2 separate regions of the Homo sapiens genome follow, and region 1 is linked to region 2. Evidence: promoter capture Hi-C in human tissues and cell types (Jung and others, 2019). All regions are on one chromosome and are shown on one strand. The core of a region is centred on a gene start or on the middle of the fragment in contact, and the rest is flanking DNA. Distances in the headings are between cores, read along the strand shown.

Evidence for each region. Contacts are between HindIII fragments. The study calls those that stand out against the background at their distance.
Region 1: a contact is called between a fragment that was not itself captured here and the fragment with the promoter of OR4D6 in region 2, in 2 of the 25 tissues and cell types used here (mesendoderm cells and neural progenitor cells).

Annotation. Positions count from the first base shown.
Region 1 is chr11:59,240,489-59,247,256 of GRCh38, reverse strand. No RefSeq gene overlaps it. Among named protein-coding and RNA genes, the nearest start is that of MPEG1, 31 kb to the right of the region's middle. The HindIII fragment of the contact is 4,570 bases long and covers 1,174-5,743 here.
Region 2 is chr11:59,453,300-59,460,109 of GRCh38, reverse strand. It overlaps OR4D6 (olfactory receptor family 4 subfamily D member 6), which reads right to left and starts at 3,149. Exons shown (of 1, transcript NM_001004708.1): 1 at 2,205-3,149. The coding sequence starts at 3,149. The coding sequence ends at 2,205. The HindIII fragment of the contact is 13,894 bases long and covers 1-6,084 here.

The DNA of each region.
Region 1 (6,768 bases), core at 2,209-4,708, 210 kb after region 2:
AACTAGGAATAACATGGAAGCTGAGCCAATGGAAATCAACTGTACCCAAACAAAGCTGGCATTTTCTTTATCCCTGAGCACAGGTAGCTACCCAAGATGCCCAGAGGTGCTCTCTGGGACATGCTGTACCCCACAACCTAAACAGAACCAGTGGTAACTGGGAGAGAACTGGCGTCTCTTTCAACCCCCACCAAGTCCTTCTCTTGGAGTTGGTAGCCAATTTAACATAGCTGCATCCAAATACTTTTTATCTCTTTGTCCAAAACATGTACTATGGGTGCTGGCAGAGATGGGTTTCATTCTTTTTCCAAGCATCTGATCTTAGCCATCTAACTGAAATGTAGAGCGTAAGGAGCTGTAAATGAGTCTGCCCCTTTTCTTTCCTTGGAATCATTACTGCTGAATCATAGAGTCACAGAATGGGAGAGTGAGAAACACTCATGAAGGTGGGGAAGTTGGAGCAGGCAAGATGCTGGGACCTTCTCTCCTACTCCTCTGACTTTGACCAGAAAGCTGGACTTTATCTATTTAATATTCTGAAATTCTGCAGAAAAAAATTTGTTTTTGCATTTCTTCTATTTACAAACGGAAGTAAGGAATAAAGGAATGTGGACTAGAAAATACTGATCTAACCTAATACTTTTATTGTCCATACAAGAGATGAGGAGATTAAGATTCAGAGAAGGAAATAATTTTTCCAACAGTCACATTACAAAGAAGCAGGAGAAATAGAACTTGAACAAGCATTTTTTTTTTCATTTAACTTTCAGGCTAGTTTTTTTTTTTTATTCTAGAGTCATGGGTATATGCAAGTGTGTATCTGCAATTTTTGAAAAACCATCTAGTTTACTTGGGGTCTTCTTTAGCTACCTTTGAGACTCTAGGTTTTAGAATAAGGTAAAGCAGAAAGAGCTTCTCTTGAAGATATAAAATATAGATGCTACTTTTTATATCTGGTACCAATAAATGGTACAGATCTTTACTTCATGTCTTTTTGCTTTAGTTTTATTACCTATGATGGGAAAGGCTAGGCTTGCTGGTTTCTAGCTCTGATATTACATTATTTTAGTGTTTTAGATCTATCCCAGAATTTTCTGGACGTCTATGCAATATTTAAAATAAGGAAGGCCCAGTGGTTTTAGGATTAGGACAAGTTTACAGTATCTACATAGTAATGATTTGATAACCCTTTATTTAAGCAGTGAACAAACTATTCATTGGACACACGTAATGTGCTAGGCACTGTAACAGAGGAGGGGACAGAAATGATCAAGGTAGACAGCACATTTCTTTTCCTCATGTCAGTCTTTCTATATTTTCTTCATCATACCCTAGAAAATCATCTGAACCATAAATGCCCACCACACTTCAAATATAGTGTTCATCTGGGAATTACCGCATTAGAACTTCATTCCTCTTTATCTTGCTATGCGGCTCAACCCTGCTAAAATGTAAATAGCCCTGCTGAGGTTGAGGACAAGAGAACTCTCCACAATCATTTTTGGAATTCAGATTCCACAGAACCAGCCTTGTCTAGTCACTTGGAATGGGAGAAAGATCATATATATTGCAGGTATATCTTTTCTTTTCTTTTTTTTTGAGATGAAGTCTCACTGTGTCTCCCAGGCTGGAGTGCAGTGGCACAATCTCGGCTCACTGCAACCTCCCCCTCCTGAGTTCAAGAGATTCTCCTGCCTCAGCCTCCTGAGTAGCTGGGATTACAGTGCCCAACACCACACCTGATTAATTTTTACATATTCTTTTAGTAGAGATGGGGTTTCACCATGTTGGCCAGGCTGGTCTCAAATTCCTGACCTCAAGCGATCTGCACTCCTCAGCCTCCCAAAATGCTGGGATTACAGGCATCAGCCACCATGCTCGGCCATTGCAGTTATATCAATAACATAGTCCTATTGTAACCAGTGGAGGGTGTCCAGGTTCTTAGCATTTTGAACAAAGAATTAGACAAAATGCATAAACAAAGCAATAAAAGAAAATTACAGATTGTTGAAATGAAAGTACACTCCACAGAGTGGGAGCTGGTTAAAGTAAGTGGCTCAAGAGCGATGGTTACAGAATTTTCTGGGATTTAAATACCCTCTAGAGGTTTCCCATTGGTTACTTGGTTTATACCCTATGTAAGTGAAGAGGATGAAGTGAAATTACAAAGTTATTGATTTGGTGTATACCCTATGCAAAAGAAGAGGATGTTTCCTGACATAGCTGAAGTCAAGTTACAAAGTTATTGACTTGGATATAGAAAGTTGGGGTTTCTATTTGATTTAGTTCTAGGAAGTCCTTAGATTCCCTGACTCCAGACCCTATTCTCCTGCCTCATTTCCCCCCTGAGAGACATGATCCCCATAAACCTTTATGGGAGGCAGAGGAACCAAGGGTCTTTCTTCTGTAACTGCTTCATGCTGACTTCGGGAGCAGTCCCTACATATTGGGGATCACAGTACTCTCATCCTGCTCTGTCTGGTGGGGACAGGGTAGCTTCTTGATGGCTGGTGGTGTCTTCACCTGGAACTGTGTGGAAACCTTCTCACATGATCATCTAAAGCTTAATGGTCTCTAGGCGAGAGGAAAAGAATTTGCTTAAAATATTTAACAAACGGCCGGGCGCGATGGCTTATGTCTGTAATCCCAGCACTTTGGGAGGCCGAGGCGGGCAGATCACGAGGTCAGGAGATCAAGACCATCCTGGCTAACATGGTGAAACCCCGTCTCTACTAAAAATACAATAAATTGGCCAGGCGTGGTGGCAGGTGCCTGTAGTCCCAGCTACTCGGGAGGCTGAGGCAGGAGAATGGCATGAACCCAGGAGGCAGTTAGAAGATCTAGTCTCCTTCTATTTTGCAAAGCAATCACTGCCAAGGGGTTTATTTGTTTTCATAATGTTACAATACTCTGGGCAATGTCATTCAAGCTTTCCATAAAACCCTTGGACAACCATTGGTAGTAGGATAGGGAAGTTGCAATCCCGCTAACTTCCAATCCTACTCCTGCTGTTATTAGTAGCCCTACAAAAAGGGGTATGAGTTGGATGGCTCATTTGTATCTGGTGGTTGCAGTTAAAGGTATAATAAGGAGTTGGTTGTTGGGAGCTATATTAATTTTGAGACATATAATAGTTCTGTCTCCAGTCCACCAGTTCCACCAAAGACAAATCACAGCAGAACCAATCTACCTGCAAAATAAGCTTCAGTCCCATATACTTGTCCTGATTACCCAGACAAAGTGCAACAAGAATCGTTGTGCATATAGTCTCTTCTAAACTGGCTTTCTTGGAACATCTCACAAGACCATGTCAGTCAAAGCCCTGAGAAAATAACCAGTTCCTTCAACTGTGTTACATTACAAAAGAAAACATGTGGTTATTTACTCTATGCAAACAAACCCATTGCCATGAATTAATGATATTCACAAATAGTTTACAAATTCTGGAGAAATTAGTCAGAGAGAGGGAAATGACTCAAATTCTGTTTAAAAAAGCATACTCAATACACTTAAAGTATATTTCAAGGCTATAAATAACTCAAAAGAAAAAGATTCTCCAGACTTTAGACACAAAACAAAAAGAATTGCAATATTTGGAACAACAAAAGCCATAAAAATAATTTCTGTCTTTCATTAGTTCAGTCCATGCAATCAACTCCTACTCTACTTCATGTTAGGTTAGCAATCTTTATGAACACACAGCCTTTCAATTGGTACCCTGGAAGTTTTCTCTCTAATTCAACGACACAATCTCCAAAGTTATCAGAAACTTGTATTCAAGAGTCCTTTCATGATTTCCTCCAGAGAAGCAAGCATTGGACTGCTTATTATAAGTCACATTTATTGAGAAGGATCAAAGCAAAACATCAATGATGGATGACAAAAGTCTTAAGACAGCCACAGATAAAAGACATAGTTGACAAGGAAATGTGGTATACAACAATATATGATTATTTTTTATTGTTACTGACAACCTATATTAAGACATATCAGAATTTTAGGAATCTCATATAATCCTGGAACACATATTAATAATACATCTATATAAATATAACTCAAAGGAAATGAAATACATCTCAGATTTGATAATGCTTCCTGTATAATTCTAACATTACAAATAAGTCTAATAAGCCCAACATGTCTCTCTTGAACTTCAGGAAACTTAAGATCCAAAAAATTTGAGGTCAAAAGACTGAATTTAAAACTCGAAAATTTGCTGTTGGAAAGTCTGTCAGATTTCAAAGGTCTCACTGACACTCAATATCACAAAACAAGATCACAAGTTACTATAAAATTGCCATTCAGATAGCCAAAATTATAATACAAAAACATTTACTCTTCCATAGAAAGGAAACACAGTTTCCCAAACAGTAAGACCTAATACTTAAGACAGCATGAGGCCAACTAAATCTGTCTCTTTCCCCTCCATTTTCTCCCTGCAGTTCACTCAAGAGGTAAACAAAATCTTTTATCTCTTAATATTTGAACAAACACTTTGTTCAAAAGTGAAAACCAAGATTTTACCTTTGTGTGGTGCATTACTAATGTTAAAACTAATTTTAATAAAACCTTATAAACAAATCTAATTTTAATCAGTTTGACCATAAGGCAAGATTTCCATAATTTTTTATCACCTTTTTCAATTTTCTATTAAACATCAGATCAATGCTCCAAGAAAGCCCTGTTATTGTAACACATGGGCCCAGATTCTGGTCTTTCATTAGTGTCCTTTTTATATTAATGTTTAATTATAGAAAATCTTTGAACTAATCTAGTCCATCAGATGGGCCCTTACAATCTCACAGGCCCACCTCTTCCATGATAGTCCTGGGGCCTAGAGGGATTGAATAGTTTAATTTCTAGTCTTGTGTTTCACAAAAGCAGTTCATTTTGATGGCGCTCTTCTCCTGAGTCTGATGATGATGCTTCAACTGGTGTTAATGTTCATAATTTAGCAGGGGTTATTGCCTTTTTCCAACCCAGGAGTCAAAGCCCTGTAACTTACCAGCACAAGCAGTAGTTAATAAGATATTTGTACTACAGAAAGTCTGATTATTCTCTTTAACATGTTACAAATTAAAACACTGTGATTTGGTGTTTAGGAGTTACTGCCTGTGGTACTTCAAACCATTGTATTAAAGTAGGTTACTCATTGCATATATCTAATTGCTAGCATTCTAGTGACAGAACTGTGACCAAAAACATCAAAAGTGTCATAGGTCCTATGCCAAACATATCAAAGTAAGACAACTAACTTTTCTCTCCATCATTAAAAGATGGTAAATGCAAATACTAGTATAAGGATAAAAAATCTCCTTTCACTTAAATGCTATACAACCAAACAAGAATGAAGTGAAAACAAACACAAAATAATTTCTTTTCAGCTATTTTAAAAGGGCATTATCACATATTTCCAAGATTGGCTTCTAGATAGAGCACTGACATCTAATTAGCTAACTTTCACCACCCAAATCTTCAAACCAGTCTAACACTTGCATATGTTTTGTTTTCAAGCACACACATCAAGGCCCATCAGTAGTAAATGGCTTGGGATAAAAAAAAATCACTAGGAAGTCTCATATTTTTATTGCTACTTAGTCCAATTGAGTGTCACTTAATTTTAATAATGGTGAATACAACTAGATTAGTTTGAGAGAAATCCCAATCAATATAATTTCTCTAATGACAAGGCCAATCTTTTTTGAATATTAAAACTTTGTAGCCATATCATAGTATTTCTTCATTACCTAAAGGGAAAGATGTGAAACCTACTCAAATTATTAATTGAATTGAATTACCTTGGAAATAAACATCATTTAAACATTTTTATTCTCACCTACTTTTTCAAATAATAAATAATGTACAATTTCTGTTCAGAACTTATTTAAAAATCTTTTATGTAATTTTCTTTTGCCAGGAGCATTAAAGCTCTCATAGCTCTCTAGATCATCAGAGGCCAGTAAAACCAAGTAAATTCTAAATGGCTGTTGTGCTCTGTCAATTCCTACAGGCCCAACAAATATAGCCTAGGAATTCCAGATAAAGAGAACAATTGATGACTTGCGAGAAATGCACAGGAAACAAAATAACTGTTCACAGAACAAAATAAAAACCTTCCCCCAGAAACTAAAAAAAAGCCACAATGGTTTTATATATATGAATACACAAGCCAACCCAAAGGAGAAAAAAACAGCAAACAAATGAAAATTTAGAAGCAAAAACAAATAAACAGAAAACCAACCCTAAATTTTTCCTACTCAGTTTATGTTGGAGGTTAACATGTTGCCTAGAGCCTAAAAAGCCTATAGAATGAATATTTTATTCCTGATACACAATTTAATATCTTTAAGTCTACCAATATCACAATAAATCCTGTGAAATCAAGATATTCACTCTAGGTACATGATCAGTAAATACTCCAGTGCCAGCAATATCCATGCAAAACAGTAAACATCATATGAAGCAATGCAAGCAGATATGTGAAATTTGGCTCTACACTAAATCTGGCTTCATGCTTATCTGCACTGAAAAAGAATCACCAAACTGCCAATGCATTTCTTTACAATATTTCTTATTTTACTTTAATCAAGACTAAGAGTTTTAAATATGAGAATGTTAATTAGCCAAATTTCTACAAATCCTTATCATGTTTTAAATAATATTTTATTATCTAAACTTTTTCAGCTTTCTAGTTTCACTCTATCTGCATGAAGATAGACACACAGAGAAACAAAAAAATTATATATGACTTACACAGACCATCCATGA
Region 2 (6,810 bases), core at 1,900-4,399:
ATAGAATGGGCATTCTTCTGGTAGTGTCAGAGTTCCAGAGGGAGTTATTAAACAGTTTCCAAGTTATTACTGCAAGCAAGTCCACACATATGCACACACACACACACATACATACACACAGACACGCACAAGGATGCCGTTTCTCTGCTTTCTAAATTCTTGCAAGGCCCCAGAACACATGGACATGAATCTACCTATTCTGTGATTCTCTGAGTTTTGGGGAAATATTGGTCTCTGGAAACATCTAATGTCATATAATCATTCATACTCAATGAGAGCCTGACATGCCCAAAGAGACAATTTGTTCTCAGGGGAGCAACAAAACTTATATATTACAATGATGTATGGCCTCAGTACACATAAATATATACAGTATATTTTTGGTATTGAATTTCCTCATAAGGGAGCAATTAGGAAAAATAGCGAATAAAGCTCCCTGAGGGGGCTAATAATTTTTTTTGTGTGTGTGGAAACAAGGTCTTGCAGTATTGTCCAAGCTGGTCTCCAACTCCTGGGTTCAAATGATCCTTTTGCCATGAGTAGCTGCGACTCTAGGCCCTTGGGGCTGCAGGGGGAGCTGATGCGGAGTCTTGGCTCAATATCTCTGTCTTGTAGGACTCAGGGAGGATCATGGATGTATGTCAACTACTAGGATCTTCTTGGCCAAATATTAATGCGTTATAACAGTTTGGTACCTCGCAAAACTTTTTTCAATGTGTTGCAATTTCTTGAGCTTCCTTACTTCTCTTGGATAATTTTTGAATGACTGTTGAAGGCTGAAGGGTGGATTTGAGGTGAGTATAGAGGAAGAAGGAGGATTCATTGTCTTTAGATATCTACTCTCTTGGAATCCTTCCCTTGAGAGAGAGGTGGATTCTAACACAGACCCAGTGGCTATTCCCAAATGACCCCGAATACAATGTGTTTCTTTTCTCTCCTGGAACAAAAAGTGGGCCATGAAGGCATAAAGTGTATTTATTAGACAGGTTTTGTTTTCTTGAACCACCATGATTTGTCTTGAATTGTCTACCCATACATAAACAAAAACTACGGTTTTATTCCAGTCATAAAAGCCCTGAGGGTGAAATGTAAGGAGGGTATAAAGAAGAAAAGGAAGTTCAGGTTAACATAAAAAAAATTGTCTCTGCGCATGTATGTACCAAAACTATACAAGCATCTTTTTAATTTCAGCTGGTAAATCAGTAGACTAGACCTGAGAACAGGAAATACTTGGTCCATGTATAAATTTGTCCATGTACATATTTGACTTACAGTTTAAAATATTCCTTCCATTTTCACTAATTGGTGAAATATACTTAAGATTCTGTACTTAAAATATAAAATCAAGGCCAGGCGCAGTGGCTCACGCCTGTAATCCCAGCACTTTGGGAGGCCGAGGCGGGTGGATCACGAGGTCAGGAGATTGAGACCATCCTGGCTAAAATGGTGAAACTCCATCCCTACTAAAAATACAAAAAATTAGCCGGGCGTCATGGCGGGCGCCTGTAGTCCCAGCTACTCAGGAGGCTGAGGCAGGAGAATGGCGTGAACCCAGGAGGTGGAGTTTGCAGTGAGCCAAGATCGCGCCACTGCACTCCAGCCTGGGCAACAGAGCAAGACTCCGTCCCAAAAAAATAAAATAAAATAAAATAAAATAAAATAAAATAAAATCAAGTGATTTCAATAATTGACTGGATATAGCAGAGTCACCAGAGAAAGCATATATGAAATAAATGTGTCTATATTCTGTGTATATGCACATTTAGGAAGAGAGGGGTAGGTAATAGGGAATGTTGATTGAATACCTGATTAATGCCAGGAGCAGTACTAACCTTCACAACTATCATCCTCACAGCATTGATCACATTTCATTCTTTTGACAAACTTGTGAGCAAGTAATGATATTTCCATATTACTGGTGCTAAAAGTGAGATAAGTGTTGGTATGAGTCACAGGTAACACCAAAAAGCATTTAGGGTATTGATTTCAACCTTATACCCTCTTCTTCTCCTGAGTCCACAAGCTCGATAGCTCACATTGTTTAATCTCATTTCTTCTTTTTGTTTGTATACTCCCGCTAATAGAATCGAGCGGCTATGAAGATATACAATGAAGTAGTGGAAGAAGAGCTAGCGACCTGTTACTCTTAGGCTAGCATTTTGAGAAAACTAAGTCAGACAGACTTCCACTCTCCATCTGACTGCTCACCCCCATTTTCTGCTCTCGGAAGGCCCAAGTCTCCTCTGCAGCCTCTGCATGGCTGACTTCATCTCTTGATTTCTCAGGGAATAGATGATGGGGTTCAGCATGGGGGTAATGACCGTGTTATTAATGGATATGGTTGTGTCCATGGGCAGCGTCATGAAGGGCCGGCAGTAGATGTAAACACAAGGCACGAAGTGAAGAGTCACCACCAGCATGTGGGACGTGCACGTGGAGAGGGCCTTGTTCCGCCCCTCCCCAGAGTGGGATCTCAGCATCACCAGAATGACAGTGTAGGAGCCCAGGAGCAGGAGGAACCAGAGCAGGGTCACCAGTCCGTTGTTAGAGATCATGAAAAGCTCCAAAGCAAAGGTGTCAGTGCAGGCCAGTTTTACCACCTGGAGCACATAACAGTAGAAGGCATCCAGTGTGTTGGGGCCACAGAAGGGGAATGGAAGCATCAGAATTACCTGGATGATTGAATGCAAACCACCACTCACCCAAGAAGCCACCACCAAGGCCACCCACACCTCTTTCCTCATCATGGTCACATAGTGCAGGGGCTTGGCGATTGCAAGGTATCTGTCATAGGCCATCACAGAGAGGAAAAAAATATCTGCCCCACCAGCAAAGTGGAAGAAAAAGATCTGTGCCATGCAGTCATTGTAGGAGATGGTTTTCCTGTCTGATAAAAGATCCACCAGGAACTTGGGGACGGTGATAGATGAAAAAACGATGTCCAGGACTGATTTGTTCCGCAGGAGAAAGTACATAGGAGTGTGTAGGCGGGACTCACAGGTAATAGTGACCACAATGAGTGCATTTCCCAGGACTGTTGCTACATACACAGCAAAGAAGACCACAAACAAGAAAAACTCCAGCTCTCGGGAACGTGTAAGTTCCAGGAAGAAAAACTCCTTCACATTAGTGTGGTTGATCTGGTCCATGATGGGGATGACTCTCTTCCAGGTCCTACCTTTGATGAAGATATGTTAGAACTTGGATTATGGTGACATGAGGTGGCAAAATCATTGATCACATACTGCTCTCAAGCATCCAGGTCATCATGACTACACAGAAAAACTGGGCCAGTCTTCTCTTTGTGGTCTGGAAATTCTTCTTTCATATGGTTCTTCTTTCTTATTGTAAATACCTTGGGTTAACAGGAAAAAACCATCACATGTCTGTATCCTCACTCTGACCAGAGAGAGATGGATGGACTATGGCCATTTGCCTATGCTTTACCAAGGGCTTTCACCTGCAATAGCTCATACTGATTTCAATTCTCATGAAGTTTCTGAAGAGTCTTTAGTATGGTTATCTCCATTTTATATACGGGGAAACTGAAGCTTTACAGCAGTTAATGACTTACATCTGCATAGTCGCAAAATTAGTGAATTGTAAATTGAGGATTCAAATACAAATCAATCTCCTGACTTGAGAAAGATTCCCTCCTTGACCAAATGTTGGTTAGGCTCCTCTGAGCCCTTTTCTTGACTATGACTCAACCTTGACCTTCTGTGTCTGTCTTTGCTGAGCCCAATTTTAACAGGAATCTTGCCAAGTCAGTTTAATGAGAATTCCACACCCTTGAAATCTAATCAAATTCCTCACCCCTTACCCTTTTATATATTTATTATTTTTAACCTCATCCCTCACCCTCAATATCTAAGTCCTTGGCCAGTCTTTAGCAAGAATTCTTTTATGCCAGTTTAGCAAGAACCACCCTACCTTTGATATCACTTCTTAGTAATTTTCAATCCACTGACCTCCCTCACTCTGCTCATTGCTTATAAATCTTCACTTGTTTTCACTATATTTCGAGTTGAGCTCAATCTTTTTCTTCTATTGCAAGAGTTTTAAATGAAATCTATCTTCCTGTCTTTAATAATTGTCTGGTGAATAATTTTTCTTTAACATAACAGTCTCCAGAGGTTTTTCCACTGTACAACTCTGAGAAATCAGAGAGTCTGGGGCTTACTTTGGCTTACCGGAATTCTAGTGTGTATATAAGGCTTAAACAGTTTATTAAGTAGTTTGACTACCTAATCCTTATCTCATCCCTTATAAAAAGAGAAGGGTCAGGCCCTCATAAGTACTCCTCTTTGGCACTCTGGGAAGCCTGGACCTTGCTATTGACACACAGGGCTCTTTGTATAGAGCCACAGTCATTGTTCAGGGCATGTTTTAGTATCACAGAAAAACTGATCATTAGAGCGTCACAGGACTTCAGAGATAAATTAGTCTAATGTTTCTTACTTTAGAAGTGACTAGAGAAGGACATTTATTTTTTTCAGAATCAGAGTTTGAATTGGTGAAATATAGAGAACTGTAAACAGGTTTGTTGACTCAAATTCCAGGGATATTCTACTATTGCTATATAATAGCAATTTACTATATTGATACTTCTTTTTCCCAAATCAGAAATTCAGTCATATGAGGACAAACTTCTTTCAGTAAGAATATCTGTATGAACCAGGTGCAGTGGCTAATGCCTGTAATCCCAGCACTTTGGGAGGTCAAGGCAGGCAGATTGCTTGAGTTCAGGAGTTTGAGACCAGCCAGGACAATAGTGAGACCCTGTCTTAACAACAACAACAAATTAAAAAAAAATTAGCCAGGCATGGTGGTGTGCACCTGCAGTCCCAGCTACTCAGGAGGCTGAAGTGGGGGGATCGCTTGAGCCCAGGAATTCGAGGCTGCAGTGAGCTATGATTGTGCCATTGTACTGCAGCCTGGGTGACAGAGCAAGTCCCTGTCTCTACAAAACAACAACCCCGCCCCCAAACCATTTGATACAGCAGGCATGTGAAACAAAAGAATATCTGTATGTTCCAAGGACTCATATTCTAGATGATTTTAAAAAATTTAAGGGGCCGGGTGCGGTGGTTCACGCCTGTAATCCCAGCACTTTGGGAGGACGAGGCAGGCAGATCACGAGGTCAGGAGATCGAGACCATCCTGACTAACATGGTGAAACCCCATCTCTACTAAAAATACAAAAAATTAGCCAGGTGTGGTGGTGGGCGCCTGTAGTCCCAGCTACTCGGGAGGCTGAGGCAGGAGAATGGCATGAACCCAGGAGGCAAAGTGTGCAGTGAGCCAAGATTGCGCCACTGAACTCCAGCCTGGGCGACGGAGTGATACTCTGCCTCAAAAAAAAAAAAAAAATTTAAATAATTGAGATGACCAAAATCTAATTCAACAATAAAAAGTAGGCAATTGGCATTGGAAAAAAACATAATTATGTCTGAGAAAGATAGGAAAAGAAAGAAGACAGTATACCAGATGAAAAAAGGATACAGCATTTTCCCTGAAATAAAAGCAAAAGAAAGTATTCCATAAGAAACATAGTTCTTAATTTTTCTCATTTCAGTTCTCTTACAGTTGAGTGTATTTTATAGTTTAGTTTGAGGGGTTAGAACATACAGAATTCCTCTTAAACAAAAATCTTGTGATCTTCTTAGATCCCTGATGTTTCCACCATTAGAATAATTTCATTCCTGTGGAAGTGAGTTGCCTCTTTTATTTTTATTTATTTATTTTTAATTAAAAAACTTTTTACAGTCTTTTAAAAATTGCACATATTTAAGGTATACAGCCCAAAAGAAATCTTACTTTAATATGCCAGCATCCAGTAACACACTAACTGGTACAATGTATTTGGAATTATGTTATTGCCTTTTATTAGAGTGTCTACAAGGAGAAGCATCCATCTTTGGATTGTACTCAGGCCAAGATCTATTTGGTTCTTCCCAGGAGACTCCAAAGAAGACAGTTATCCTAGACCCAAGTGCAAGGCAGAGCTCCCGTGGGACATCAATGTGCGTTCTTTTTTGAGGCAATAAGAATTGTGTAACTGACTGCGTATCTTTGTGTGTGTGTGTGTGTGTGTGTGTGTGTTTAAGACAGAGTCTTGCTCTGTTGCCCAGGCTGGAGTGCAGTGGTGCGATCTTGGCTGACTGCAACCTCCGCCTCCCAGTTCAAGCAATTCTCCTGCTTCATCCTCCCAAGTAGCTGGGATTGCAGGCACGCGCCACCATGCCTGGCTAATTTCTGTATTTTTAATAGAGACAGGGTTTTGCAATGTTGGCCAGGCTGGTCCGGAACTCCTGACCTCAGGTGATCTACCCACTTCAGCCTCCCAAAGTGCTGGGATTACAGGCGTGAGCCACCGCGCCAGGCCCTGACTATGTATCTTTGCTTTGGCTTTCATACATTCAAAAACGTATGAGTGACTTAATTTTCTACTCCATAATTTTTCACATGTAGCCTCTTAACAGTTCCTTATTTACATTCTATTGTTTTACTGTAGGTAGTTCTTTGTTATTGCTGCAAGATCTCCCTGATCCCTTGTGGAATGTGATGGGAAATACATTGGTTACTAAGGTAGAGAGAGGTTTTCATAGGTATGTGGGAATCAGGCAGGTGAAGAATAAGCGTCAGTCATGATGGCTAAAATGGAACGAGACACCAGCCAGGAGAGCACAGCAGTTTGGGACTCAGGACTTAAGATAGAAAGTATGGAAACCAGGGTGAGTGGGTGGCATTTTGAGTCAGGCTTGTAGAATGTACAGGAAGTGAGGGGCTACAAAAGCCATACCTTGA